2 separate regions of the Homo sapiens genome follow, and region 1 is linked to region 2. The links are contacts of gene promoters, found by promoter capture Hi-C in human tissues and cell types (Jung and others, 2019). All regions are on one chromosome and are shown on one strand. The core of a region is centred on a gene start or on the middle of the fragment in contact, and the rest is flanking DNA. Distances in the headings are between cores, read along the strand shown.

Region 1 (2,700 bases), core at 148-2,647, 150 kb after region 2:
TATTGAGGAGAAGGAAGAGGAAGTGACTGAAGCAATAAGGGAAACAAAGTCATCAAAAAATGAATTACATTCTCTATCAAAAATGGTGAGTTTTTCATATTAGAAATAAAAAATACTGATTTTTGTTTTGAGTTATAAATAGTAAACTTTTTTGTCAATAATTAAATAGCAATTGGCCAATTTTTTTATATTTAGCCAATTTGCCTGTATTAGTTTTCTATTGCTGCATAACAAATTACCACAAATTTAGCAGCTTGAAACAGGACCCATTTATTATCTCAACCTTTTCGTAAGTCAGAAGTCTGGGCACAGCATGGCTCAAGTGGTTGCTCTGCCCCAGGTCTGGCAAGACTAAAATCAGGGTGTCAGTAGCCTGGCACTTCTGTCTGGAGACTCCAGGATAACACTATTTTTAGTATACAGGTATCAAAATATCACACTAGACCCCCTATAAAATGTACAATTATTGTGTGTCAATTAAAACAAAAACTGAAGAAAAACTTCAGACAAAAACTTCTTCGGTTTCTGTTTCAATTGACACATAATAATTGTACATTTTTATAAGGGGTCTAGTGTAATATTTTGATACCTGTATACAATGTGTAATGATCAAATTAGGGTAACATTCAGCATTCTTTGTTTTGGTAACATTCAAAATCGCCCTCTTTCGAGGATTTTGAAAATCCTCGTGGAAAATACAGAATGAATTATTATTAACTAGAGTCACTCTACAGTGCTAAAGAACACTAAAACTTACTTCTCTATTAAGCTATAATTTTTTATCTCTTATCCAACCTCTCTCTATGTCCCTACCCCCTACCCTTCCTAGTCTCTAGTTATCACTGTTCTACTCTCTGCTTCTGTGAGATCAACCTGTTTAGCTTCCATGTATGAATGAGAACATATGGTATTCATTTTTCTGTGCTAGGCTTATTTCACTTGACATAATACCCTCCTGTTCCATCCATGTTGCTGCAAATAACAGGAATTCATTCCTTTTTATTGCTGAATAGTATTCCATTGTGCATCACATTTTCTTATCTACTCATCCATTGATGGAAGCAGGTTGATTTCATATCTTAGGTTTTGTGAATTATGCCACAGTAAACATGAAGGTGTAGATATCTCTTTGACATACTGATTCCTTTTTCTTTGGATATATAACCAGCAGTGGGATTGTTGGATCATATGTAATTCTTTTCTTAGTGGTTTTTTTTTTTTTGAGGAATCTCCATACTGCTGTGATCTCCACTCCACAGTGGCTGTGTTCATTTATAGTCCCAACAACAACGTTTAAGAGTACCTTTTCTCTGCATCTTCAACAGCATTTGTTATTTTTTGTCTTTTTGATAGTACCCATTCTAACTGGGGTGTGCAGTTTTGACATGATTTAATTCTTATGGTTTGAGAACTGAAGCCTTTGTTTCCTTGGCACCTGTCAGCCTGAGATCACACTCAGTTTTCAGAGGCTGCCGCATTCCCTGGCTGTTTGTTCTCTTCATCTCTAAAATCAGCAGTGGTGTGCTCCTGCTTGGAAGCATCTGACCTTTCATTATGACTCATCTTTCCTGAAGATGAAGCTTTCTTTTTCTGCCATATCTCATTCACTGTTGTATAAGAACATAATAGATAAAATAAATAATAGTATAGTAAAAGGAAATAATATATAAATTATTATGCCAATTTGCATTCCTACCTAGAGTTAAAGACATTCTTCTCTACAATAAGGCTTTTTAATTGTACCTCATTATGGTTTGTTATTAGTTATTAATGGAACTGAACATATTTTAATGACTTTTGCAGGGTGATTTGTATTTCCTTTTCTGTGAAAACCTGCTCATGATTTTCCTGCTATATACTGAGTGTCATCTCACTGATTTGTAAGAATTTATATATCATGGATACTAAATATTTTCTAGTTACAAATGTTAAAAATATATTTACCCAACCTTTTTTCATTTCTTTATGGTAACTTCTGATGAAGAGACGTTTCAGTTTAATGTAGTATCAGGTATAAATACATTCCTTTGTGCATTTTCCTTTTGTGAACTTGTTTAAGAAATTTTCCCACCCCTGAGATTATAAAAATATTTTCTGTTATTTCATTCTCAATGTTTCTGAATTCTGCTTTTAATATTTATGTGATAGTTTTAGATGAAACTATGTTTAGAATGTTCAAAATTTAGGGTTGTTTTTCTCGCTCTGCCTTCTATTTACAAATTTGGAAATAAAAAGCTATTTCTACAATTTTTGGAATGCATGTTTCACTTGCCAGATGTGATGCATAATTAATAAGAAATTAATGTATGGGTGTAATGTGAAGTGAGTTTCCAGTTACTTTTTTTATAATATAGAAAACAAGTTGTTACAATACAATTTACTGATGAGTTTTCTTTATATATTTATAATCAGTGCTATCTCTGTCCCATATTAGGCTTTTATGTTTGTGTGGATCTTTTTCCATTCACTTTTTACTTTGATCTATTTGACCATCTTCACCTGAACACTCCATGGCTACGTCACGAAAATTCCATAATGGGTGTTAATTATCTATTATAGTGAATCCTCTGATCTTATATTTTCTTTTGAGTTCTAGGCTTTTCTTGATTCTTGCCCTTCCATATAGGTTTCAGGATTATCTGGTTCATTTATTTAAAATTTTTTGTTAGAATTATGATTGAAACTGTATCCACTTATGGA
Region 2 (2,700 bases), core at 58-2,557:
TTACTGGCATGCAAATGATTCATTTGGTTTATAATTTAACATTGTATTGAGAACAAGCCAAAGTTTAATAATTAATGGAGGGAGATGGGAAAGTGGAGTGCATTCTTGAATCCATTTTTTAATTACAAAAAGAGCTCTGCTTCTGCATATATTAATTTAAGATTAAGACCTTCCACCAGTTTGTTAGTTATTGCTTCCTTTTTTTCATCTTTGGCTGAAAGGACCACATTCCAGGTACGGACTTGCTGGTTTTCCCCTCTTAGAAAGGATTACTAATTAAATTGCCTCTTAAAGTAATAGACTTTGCTGATTTAACCTTGGCAGGCAATTGCCTGTTCTCAGTGTTGCCTGGAAAAATGATTTCTCTGGATGAGAATGCTAATCTTTATTCTGATTCTGTTTTTTTTTTTTAACCATCTTCAGTTTATAGTCCAGTGTTTGTTTTCATTGAAGAAGACGGTGACAATAGTGTAAGACACGACTGTCCTCTGAAGCCTATTTCAGTTCACAGTGTATATTCACAGATGAAGAAACAAAATGTAGGTAATACATTTTGTGCCACTGATTTATGTATTTATTGATCTGTCGCCCAGGCTGGAGTGCAGTGGCACGATCCCAGTTCACTGCAGCCTCTAACCACTGGGCTCAAGCAATCCTCCTGCCTCGGCCTCCCAAAGTCCTGGGACAGGACACGCCTGGCACAGGGTTGTGCCACCACACCCGGCCTGCCACTTAGTATTTTGTCAGAAGGATCAATGCTTCAAAAATTTGTTTTTGAAAGAAACAGACCCTTAGAGAAATGGCTTGAATTAGTCTTGAATTAGTCATTTTCCCCACTTTCAGACACTAGGAAAAGTTCTTTCTTCCTTAACAGTTTGTTGAGGTTTCTCAATACTGAAGTCACAACCAAACCACATGGGGTTATCGCATGGAGTCCTGGTTGTATCATCCCAAGTGGCAAGAAAGAAAGAGGTCCTGCGGTCCTCCCGAAGGTGGACGAAGTCTGTGATCCCCTCACGTTCTAACCTCACTGCTGTACGAAGGGGCGTTGACTCGTCTCCACTCCTTCCCTCTCCGGTAAAGAGGGAAAGGAGTTGGGTTGGCAAATCGGTTACAAGAGAAAGGGAAAGGCACTGGGAGAAGGCGGAGCGGGGGCGGCCTGGAGCGCTGATCGGGCGCCGAAACGCCGGGAGTCGGGGGCTAAGGGCTCGAGCCAGGAGGCCCCGGAGCAGCAGCCGCCCGCTCCTCACGCCGCCGCCGCCGCCCCCGCGGTTGCCTGGACACGGGATAACCGACTTGGGGCCTCGACCGCAGCAGAGCCGGAGGGGTGGGCAGGCGCGGGTCCGGGAGACGCGCGGGGAAACGCGCGGAGCCGGTGAGTCGGGGGCGCTTGTGCCTCGGCGCGGGCGCTTGTGCCTCGGCGCGGGGCGCTGCCGGGCGGCGCCCACTCCCCCTGGCCGCCCGCCTGCGCGACTCCCGCGGGAGAACCAAATGCAATTCCCTGGCCACCCTGAGGGAGTTAGAGTCGACTAGTTCTTCACCCCTTCCAGAGGCGGTGGGGAGTCCTTGCCCCGCGCGTTTGAAAACAATTCCCCAAATCCCCAGTCCCATAATTCCCCAGTCCCCCAGTCGTTTTGTCCCCCTGTTCTCCGTCCTCCAGTTTCCCAGTCCTCCAACCCCTGTCCCCAGTCCCCCAGTCCCCCAGTCCCCCAGTCCCCCAGTCCCCCAGTCCCCCAGTCCCCACTGCCGGGGGAAGGGAAGCAGAGTCTCCCTCCGCTGGCCGCCTAGAGGAACTTCGTCTTGTCTGTAACTGCGTCTCTAGCGTCTTATTCCTTTAAAATAATTATTTCAACTTTTATTTTGCTTATAAGGCCGCCTTGTGGTGGCTCATGTATTATTCCTTTGAACTGTTATTGATTTCTTTTCTTGATATTTAATTTTTTAAGTGTCTGCTCAATCAAGTCAAATACTGAACAACTTCCTGGCGGAGAGGCTGAGAATTTTATACTTGCTTGCTCGAAAGCACCCCAAATAAGATGATCCACGCCAACACCTCCCCTTTACAGGTGAGAAAAGTGATATTCAGAGCTGATTTGTGATTTGACAAAAGTCAGATCCAGCAATCTTCAAACTCAGGAATATAAGAATCTCCCGATTGCCAATTCAAAGCATTTTCTATTATTGTTTTCTTGACATTCATCCACTGCTCAATAAATATTTGTGAATTGACTTGGTAGCTTATCACTCCTATTTATCATTGGATAATCTGTTGTGTATTGATTGCTCTGGGCATCTTGACCCAAATACAGCATTCTTGACATCTCCCTCCTACCCTCAAAATATTGTTTCTTGGTCCTGCTGTAGTAATAGGTTTTAGAACACCACTTACCAAGTTTAAGAACTCAGAGACATGACTAGTTGTAAGACAAATCCAAGAATCCAGAGGATTTTCAGCTATTTATGTTCAATTGTTATTTAGACATTCGTACAGAAACTAGTGTATTTCTATCTTGAATATATAATACTTCTTACTTTACTGTTGCAGTCATAAAGTTTTATTATAAACTATATCTGTCTAATTTCCAGAACTATCGAAAATATGAGTTTGATTGTTAGTCTACCCACTATCCCTGGATGGGTTGGGATTGCTGCCAGAGCTTTTATCCACAACCCAGACTTCTCTCTCCTGCTCCCACCTCA

What was found. The method cuts DNA at HindIII sites, captures the fragments that hold promoters and counts their contacts. A contact is called where the count stands out against the background at its distance.
Region 1: a contact is called between a fragment that was not itself captured here and the fragment with the promoter of CCDC178 in region 2, in 2 of the 25 tissues and cell types used here (dorsolateral prefrontal cortex and lymphoblastoid cells).

What each region holds. Positions count from the first base shown.
Region 1 is chr18:33,290,544-33,293,243 of GRCh38, reverse strand. CCDC178 (coiled-coil domain containing 178) reads left to right here. Exons shown (of 23, transcript NM_001105528.4): 12 at 1-85. Among named protein-coding and RNA genes, the nearest start is that of CCDC178, 150 kb to the left of the region's middle. The HindIII fragment of the contact is 7,615 bases long and covers 1-2,700 here.
Region 2 is chr18:33,439,328-33,442,027 of GRCh38, reverse strand. CCDC178 (coiled-coil domain containing 178) reads left to right here and starts at 1,307. Exons shown (of 23, transcript NM_001105528.4): 1 at 1,307-1,375; 2 at 1,947-2,066. The HindIII fragment of the contact is 6,939 bases long and covers 1-2,700 here.